Linked DNA regions of Homo sapiens: regions 1 and 3 are each linked to region 2. The links are contacts of gene promoters, found by promoter capture Hi-C in blood cells and fetal thymus (Javierre and others, 2016). All regions are on one chromosome and are shown on one strand. Each heading gives the region's core, a stretch centred on a gene start or on the middle of the fragment in contact. The rest is flanking DNA. Distances are from core to core; before and after follow the strand shown.

Region 1 (2,865 bases), core at 286-2,785, 160 kb after region 2:
TGTTCCCCGGGTGGGTGAGGTTGGACCAGGCGGTGTCAATGTTGCCGGAGGCACAGCACTCGGCCCGGGTGACATCAGTCTGGAGCACCAGGCTGCAGGTGGCCTCCTGGCCCTGCTGGAGCCAGCAAACACCACCTGCGGGCCGGGGAACGGGGTGCTCTCCTGGGCCACTCCTGACACCCAGCTTCTGGCCCGCCCACAGATGCATGCAGGTGGTGCTGAGTAGTTACGCACGGAATGATCTACCCCCACCCAGGAAGAAGGGGCAGAAAACCACATGGGTGTCCCCACCCTGGCTCCAGAACCCTGGAAATGTCTCCTCCCCTCTGAGCTCCACGTGCCCCCCCCCACAGCCTCACCACCAACCCCCACCCACCCCAGGAGGTCCCTTCCCGTACCCTCCAAGCCCCCAGGCCAGGGGCTGGCACCCTGCCCAACCCCTCAAACACCACCAAACACCAGGCACTGGGCATGTCAGGGTCAGCAGGCCCTGGAGCCGCTTCTCCCGCCTCTGCCCTCTGTCTAGACAGCACCCGAGGGCGAGGGCACGCGGAGCCCCGCGCCTGGCAGCCCCCCCACCGCCTGGCCCGCCTCTTACTCACTCCAACTTGGGAACATTCCCCTTGCATGAGCTCACTGTCTCCCCAGGGACGTGGCCTTCGGGGAGGGGGCTCTGCTCTCCCTTTGGCGCAGGGCTGGGGTGGGGTGGGGCTGCAGGGATGGGGGGTGGGGAGCCAGAGAGCCCCCCATTTCTTCCCCCGTCCCTGGGGGCAGGAACGGCCACAGCCCCCATCCCAGAGCGCTTGCTGGTTCACAGACACTGCCAGGGACCAGCTTGTGGAACGCAGCACCTTGGCACCCATCATAGGAGGGGAAACTGAGGCCAGGAGTGGGGCCGTCTCCTGCCTGGCACCTCCCGGCAAGTCCCAGGTGTGAGACTCCATGCCCCGTCTACCCAGGACCCGGGAAAGCTCTCAGCCCCAGCTGGAGGGCCTGGCTCCCGACACCCAGCACTACCTCTCGGCACCAGGACCGACCCGGACGGTCGCGGCTAGAACCCTGGCTTTGCCTGCTACAGGCTGTGTGACCCTGAGCCTCAGTTTCCCCATCTGGAAGACGGAGATGAAGAGAGCTCCGGCACTATCGGGATGGCACAGGTTCAGGGAGGGGAGAGGTAGACACTAAGCGCTCAATAAATGTCAGCGGTCATTGTGATTAGAAACCTCTGCTCTGCTGACCTCTTGGTGACCCTCCTTCAGACCTTCCCGGCTCCAGCTTGCGCCGGACACCGCCCTCGCCCCCGCCGCCGCCGCCGCGCCCCCCGACGTCCCCCCGGCCGCATTCCGCGCAGCCCCACGTGGGTGGCCCGCCCCGCCCGCCCCTCTGGCCGCCCCACTCACCGGGCGCGGGGTTCCCCGAGCCCATGGAGCTCACGAAGCCCACGGCCCAAGCCAGGGCCCCCCAGGGCAGAGGCCAGAGTGGCCCTGGCGCCCCGGGACGCATGGCGAACGCAGAGACGGCAGCGGCACCGACTTCCCAGCGCGCGGCCGGCGCTCCCTATAAAGGTCCCGCGGGCCGCGGGCGGGGCGGGGCGCGGGGCGGGGCGCGGCGCGGGAGTGGCGGGGGCGAGGCCGTGTCCCGCGCGGGGTGGGCAGGCGCCGGGCCCGGCCGCTGCGGGGGGCAGTTGGGGGCGAGCGCCCGGGTCCCCTTCCGGAGCCAGAGAATGCATTTGGGGAGATGTGGCTGGACCCAGGGCGGAACCGGGACAGGGGTGTGGGTTCGAGGTGGTGGCAGCCTTTTGGGTGGATCGAGGGGCCGTCTCCAGGAATTAAAGTGGGTTTGGGGGTCTTCAGTTTCAGGGGTGGCGGTGAGGTAACGGGGACCCAAGAGGAGCACGTCTGTGGATCCCTGCATCCCGTTTCTGTGATTTGCATGTGGTCACTTTCATGGTCCAAGTGTGGTCTGAGCCCCCCAACCCGGCCTCCTTGTTCCCGACCCGCCCCACACACCCAAAACCTCAGCTGGATATGGTTCCCTGCTCACAGCGCGGGCCGCGCACCCGTCCACCTGGCCGCTGGAGCCGGCCTGTGGGTGGGGAGTGGTTGGGTGTGGGACAGAACGGGGTGCGGCCGGGACAGACCCAGAGACACAGCTCCTTCCAGCATCTCGGACAACAGCAGGCCTCGCCCAGCCACGGCCCCCAGGGAGGCCACTGCGTGTGTGTGTGTGTGTGTGTGTGTGTGTGCGCGCGCACGCCTGGCCTTTGTCCTGGGCCCCTGGGCAGCTCTGCCCCATCAGCCCTCCAAGCCTTTGCAGACATTCCCCCAGATCACCTCAACAAGAATGTTTACTAGGTTTTTTCCTCTCCCTCCAAGATTCAGCAAACACTGTTTCCAGCAGAGGCGTTTCCAACAATGTATGACAGCGACATCTGCGTGGGCCTGGAGGCGCTGCGCCCGAGGGGGCTTTCGTGCAGCCAGACACATTTCCTACTCTGGAGCTGATTCTGTCATGGGGGCCTCCAGATTTGTCAGGCGCCCTTGGCGAGCGCAGGGGAGCCCCTCTGTTCCTGCTTCTAGGGCATCAGTGAACATCTCTTTTGGCCAGAGGGACCCTGCGGGGTGCTGGGGTGCCACGGTGACCAAGGCAGACCCCATCACACCCTCACCGAGCTCCTGGTTTGGACAACAAAATGCAGAGACAAATTAATCTATAACTTCAAGGAGTGGTAAATGCTTTCAGGAAAATACAGAAGGTTGAGGTGGTGGAGAGCGGTTGGGTGTCTGCTGGGCATGCCTGTGTCTGGCCACTCGCTGTGCCGGCATTGCCCACCCCGCAGGTGGAAACGGACGTGTCCAGCAGCCC
Region 2 (2,700 bases), core at 165-2,664:
CCTGGGCGCAGTGGCTCATGCCTGAGTGAGACCCCATCTCAAAAAAACAAAACAAAACAAAATAAAAAAAAAGAAGCAAAAAAAAAAAAAAAAATCAGCCAACAAAGAGACCCATTTTGCAGATGAACAAACTGAGGCATTGAAAATCCCCCTCAGGTCAGGAGTTCGAGACCAGCCTGACCAACGTGGTGAAACCCCATCTCTACTAAAAATACAAAAACTAGCCAGGTGTGGTGGTGTGTGCTTGTAATCCCAGCTACTCAAGAGGCGGAGGCAGGAGAATCATTTGACCCCAGGAGGCTGAGGCTGCAGTAAACTGAGATTGCACCACTGCACTCCAGCCTGGGCGACAGAGCAAGATTCCGTTTCAAAAAAGAAAAAAAAAGGGCCAGGCGCGGTGGCTCACGCCTGTAATCCCAGCACTTTGGGAGGCTGAGGCAGGCGGATCACGAAGTCAGGAGATCGAGACCATCCTGGCTAACACCTTGAAACCCCGTCTCTACAAAAATTACAAAAAATTATCCAGGCATGGTGGTGGGCGCCTGTAGTCCCAGCTACTCGGGAGGCTGAGGCAGGAGAAAGGCGTGAACCCGGGAGGCTGAGCTTGCAGTGAGCCGAGATCGCGCCACTGCACTCCAGCCTGGGCGACAGGGCGAGACTCCGTCTCAAAAAAAAAAAAAAGAAAAAGAAAAAGAAAATCACCCTCAGGATAGGGACCTGAGGGGGCCCATGCTCTCTTCTTCCCCTGATTCCAGCATCACTAACTCCTCGACCCTTTCACTCACTCACTCATTCATTCATTCACTCATTCATTCGTTCACTCATTCACTCATTCACTCATTCATTCACTCATTCACTCATTCATTCACTCACTCATTGATTCATTCACTCATTCATTCGTTCACTCATTCACTCATTCACTCATTCATTCACTCACTCATTGATTCATTCACTCATTCATTTGTTCACTCATTCACTCACTCACTCATTCATTCACTCATTCATTCATTCATGCATATTCACTGAGCATTTGCTGAAGGCTGGGTGCTGTCCAGGAATTCGCCTGTTACTAGCTAATTCCCAAAACAGCTCCTCAGGAGGGAAGGGCTGGGTTTTGCCCGTTTTACAGATAGGCAACTGAGTCAAATGGCCAGGGCTCCCCCTTGCCCTTGTCCTCCCCACCCCTGCAAGCGTTGGTCCCGAGCAGTGAGTGGAGTCTCCCCTGACCCTGCCTCAGTTTCCCCAGCTGTGCCAGAAGGGCTTTGGATGGACCTCGTGGTGGATATTTCCCCACAATCCACCGGGGCCTGGAGGCTGGATGGATGGGCACGTGGCTCACTCACCGCTCAGCAGCAAGGCCAGCAGCACGGACGCCAGGGCAGGGCTGGGGGGCCGGTGAGCCATGGTGGGGTCCAGGGTGCACCCACGGTCAAGCTCCTCTTATAGCCCAATGCCAGAGGCCGTTGAGTTGCCCAATGCCCAGGCTGGGTCCCCACTTCCTCCTTTTGCCTTGGGAGCCTGGGAGTCAGAACGGACTCCGGGGAGGAGGTGGGGGCTTTGGGCTCAAGGTCCCAACCTTTGTGGGGGCGGGGAGGCTGGCTGTCACCCACCCAAGTCGGGGGTCCCTGGCCAGGTGGGCAACATGGCCACAGCCCTCAGAGCAACACATGCCCACGTGCCACCCACAAGGAGACGCCTCCCTGACGAGGTCCCTGTGGCCCCAGCAAAGCCGGCCGTGGCAGGTGTGTCCCGTGGGTGGGTGAGCTGGAAACGGACAGACAGCAGGACGTAGCAGGGGACAGGATGCAGAGCTCGGGAAGGCAGGGCCCCACCACGAGTGCCCTCAGTGCCTCACCTGAGGCCCCAGCGAACATCCTCCTGCCAGTTTTGTCTGGGGGTTTTCTTCCCCCTTTAAGGCCAGGATTCTCAATCAAGAGGTGATTCTGCCCCCAGGGGACCCTGGGCGAGGTCTGAGGACACCTGTGGCTGTCACGAAAGGGGAGCTCCTGGCATGGAGTGGGTGGAGGCCAAGGATGATGCCTAGCACCCTGCAGTGCCCAGGACGGGCCTGCCCCAGAGAAGGATCCAGCCCCGATGTCCACAGGGCCCAGGGGAGAGACCAGTGTTCATTATTTGGGGAAAAAAATGGCCAGGTGCGGTGCCTCACACCTGTAATCCCAGCACTTTGGGAGGCCGAGGCGGGTGGATCGCCTGAGGTCAGGAGTTCAAGACCAGCCTGGCCAACATAGTGAAACCCCATCTCTACTAAAAATACAAAAATTAGCTGCGCGTGTTGGCGGGCGCCTGTAGTCCCAGCTACTCAGGAGGCTGAGGCAGGAGAATCACTTGAGCCTGGGAGGCGAAGGTTGCAGGGAGCCAAGATCGTGCCACTGCACTCCAGCCTGGGCAACAGAGCAAGACTCCATCTCAAAACATAAATAAATAAAAATAAAAAATAAAAAATCCAGTCTGCCCCCTGCTCACACCGGACACCAGAATAAACTCCCGATGGGGCGTACGGCATAAACCCGGGGGACCCCAGCTCCCGGGACTCGCCTCCTCTCTCCCTCCCACTCAGGGTGTGGATTTCAATGTGTGCAGCCTCCTGGGACCTCAGCAGGGCAGAGGATCATGGGACTCAGAGTCTCTTGGGGTCTGTGGAATCCTCTAACCCTGGGGTGATTCTGCCCCCAGGGGTCC
Region 3 (2,700 bases), core at 178-2,677, 140 kb before region 2:
CTAAGTCAGAGAACCAGGAAGAGGAGTCGGGAGCAGGGTGGTTTGAGCAAATGCATGGTCCAGCAAGGAAGTGTTCGCCCCTGCAAGAGGCTTCGAGGCTGGAGGTGGTAGATGTGAGGTTGGTGCTTCCTCTGAGGGTCAGAGGGGCCCTGGGTGGGAGGAGTACAGGAACAGAACAAAGAGGATCCAGAAGGACACTGGGGCCCAAGAGCCCAGTAGGCTTGTGCCCCAATCCTTCTATCCATAATGTCCAACCTAAGACCCCAAGCCTCAGCTTCCTCCTCTCTAAAATGGGAAAACTCAGCCGGGCGTGGTGGCTCACGGCTGTAATCCCAGCACTTTGGGAGGCTGAGGTGGGCAGATCACTTGAGGTCAGGAGTTCGAGACCAGCCTGGCCAACATGGTGAAACCCTGCCTCTACAAAAAATACAAATGTGGGCCGGGTGTGGTGGTTGGTGCGGGCCTGTAGTTGCAGCTACTCAGGAGGCTGAGGCCCGAGAATCGCTTGAACCCTAGAGGCAGAGGCTGCAGTGAGCCGAGATCGCACCACTGCACTCCAGCCTCAGCGACAGAGTGAGACCCTGTCTCAAAACTAAAATAAAATGGGAGAAATTTATGAGTTGTGTGTAGACTCCATCAGGCAATGCTGGAGCACAGAGCCAGTCCCAAGAGATCTCAGCGGGCACACGGGGGAAGCGAGTAGCTTCAGGGACTGGCTGCATTTGGGCTTGGGAGTAGAGGGGAAACTGTGGGCGACGGTGAGTATCTGTTGCTTTATTGGAGGAATAAACATGAGTTTCCTGCGCCACCCCTTCATGGGAGACTCCCCCAGACCTTGGTCCTTCTCCCTTTTCCTCCAGAACCACAACATCCACAGAGCTCATAGGCCCCTTTTAATCAAATTTCGCGCTCCAAGAACTCGTGCATGCGCAATTGCCCCAAGGGACCCCCCGGAGCGTCTCCCATTTTCCCCCACTGCCCCCATAGCAGCTCAGGCCTGAGCCCCGCGCGTGCGCAGAGCGGCCTAACAGGTCGCACGTATCTCCCCAAAGCCCCCAGACCCGCGCATGCGCAGAGCGCCCGAACGGAGACCACCTCCCCTCCCCACGCCAATTCCGACTAAGGGTGCACGCGGCCCCCACCAACCCATCCCCCGACTTCAGCCTCGGGCGCCCCATGACCCCAGCAGCGAGACCGCACCGCCGCACCTTCCGCTGGAGCTCCCAGGCGCTGATGTAATTCTTGCCCAGCTGCGCCGCCAGCAGATACTCGCCATTGAGCAGCGCCAGGCCGCGGGGTCCCGCCTGGCCGCCGCGGTAGGTGAGCAGGTTGGCGCCCGAGTGAAGTTCCCACACGATGCAGCTCCACATCGGGGCCGCCGAGTCCGTACACACGGCCACCTCCATGGGCGCCGCCATCTTGCCTTCCCCACCGCCCCGGACGTGCGTCATCATGAGCGAGACGCGGACGACTGCCCCACGCGGGCCAGAGCGGCGGCCCCGCGGCCCCAGCGGGTGGCCGACCCGCGCATGCGCCCGTGCCTCGGAGAGAGGGGCTTTCTTGTGAAGTGGGATTTCCCGCTTACCTGAGACTCGAGGGTCGCGCGGCCTGCTTAGAGATCTGGGGAGGCGACTTCTTCCAAGGCCCAGGGTCTCCGGCGATCAGTTAGTAGCTCTAGAGCCGGGGTACCTGACTTGGCCTTTTCCTCCTGGGCATTTTTGGCCAAGTGACTCAAGCTCTTGGATTCATTTATTTTTAAATGTTCAAATAATAAAGTTCCGACGTCACAGGCCTAAATGACACATTGCGCCTAAAAGAGAGAGCGCACACCCAGCAACATGGCTAGTTGGCGATGAATACATTGGAATTCACTGCTTCCTTATTTATTTAGTTTTGTAGAGCCAGGGTCTCACTGTCCTGCCCAGGCTGGCCTCGAACTCCTGAGCTCAAGTGATCCTCCCAGCTCGGCCTGCCAAAGTGCTGGGATTACAGGCGTGAGCCACCGCGCCCGGCCCAGTGTTTCCTTATTGGTCGACATCTGCCTCCCCCTTGACCCCTCTTTAGGGGCCTCAACATCTAAATTATTAGTCGGATAGCTTGGTGTAGGTCAAACAAGTCGCCAGTTCTGTCCGAGCCAAGCAGGGTCTAACTTCATGTCACGGCTGCCCGTCACGGACCATGTCTGAAAACGGCATTCAAAAAAAAAAAAAGGCCGGGCGCTTTGGCTCAGGCCTGTAATCCCAGCACTTTGGGAGGCCGAGGTGGGTGGATTACCTGAGATCAGGAGTTCGAGACTACCCTGGCCAACATGGCGAAACCCCGTCTTTACAAAAAGTACAAAAAGCCGGGCGTGGTGGGAGGCTGAGGCAGGAGAATCGCTTGAACCCGGGAGGCGGAGGTCTCAGTGAGCCGAGATCCCAGGCACTCCAGCCTGGGCGAATGAGACTCTGTCTCAAAGAAAAACATATATCTATTATTTATTTATACTAAATATATATCTAGTAGAGATGGGGGGTCTCACTGTGTTGCTCAGGCTGGTCTCCAACACCTGGGCTTAGGCCTTGGCCTCTTAAACCGCTGGGATTACAGGCTTCAGCCACAACGTCCGGCCTAAAAACAGTATGATTTAAAATGTGCAATTAGTTGCCAACCCCTTAAAAAGGGATAAAAAGGGAGCATTCATTTAAAAGTCGGGATTTC

Evidence for each region. Contacts are between HindIII fragments. The CHiCAGO score rates a contact against its expected background, and 5 or more counts as called.
Region 1: the fragment with the promoter of FSTL3 here is called in contact with the fragment with the promoter of PRTN3 in region 2 in 4 of 17 cell types (erythroblasts, M0 macrophages, monocytes and 1 more); the score reaches 6.6 in erythroblasts.
Region 3: a contact is called between the fragment with the promoter of WDR18 here and the fragment with the promoter of PRTN3 in region 2, in 12 of 17 cell types (neutrophils, monocytes, total CD8 T cells and 9 more). The highest score is 14.7, in neutrophils.

Annotation. Positions count from the first base shown.
Region 1 is chr19:675,062-677,926 of GRCh38, reverse strand. FSTL3 (follistatin like 3) reads right to left here and starts at 1,535. Exons shown (of 5, transcript NM_005860.3): 1 at 1,401-1,535; 2 at 1-135. The coding sequence starts at 1,503. The HindIII fragment of the contact is 16,650 bases long and covers 1-2,865 here.
Region 2 is chr19:839,713-842,412 of GRCh38, reverse strand. PRTN3 (proteinase 3) reads right to left here and starts at 1,414. Exons shown (of 5, transcript NM_002777.4): 1 at 1,344-1,414. The coding sequence starts at 1,404. The HindIII fragment of the contact is 23,301 bases long and covers 1-2,700 here.
Region 3 is chr19:983,072-985,771 of GRCh38, reverse strand. It overlaps WDR18 (WD repeat domain 18), which reads right to left and starts at 1,427. Exons shown (of 10, transcript NM_024100.4): 1 at 1,209-1,427. The coding sequence starts at 1,418. RefSeq lists enhancers at 1,108-1,287, 1,318-1,467, 892-1,833 and a silencer at 1,518-1,607. The HindIII fragment of the contact is 36,612 bases long and covers 1-2,700 here.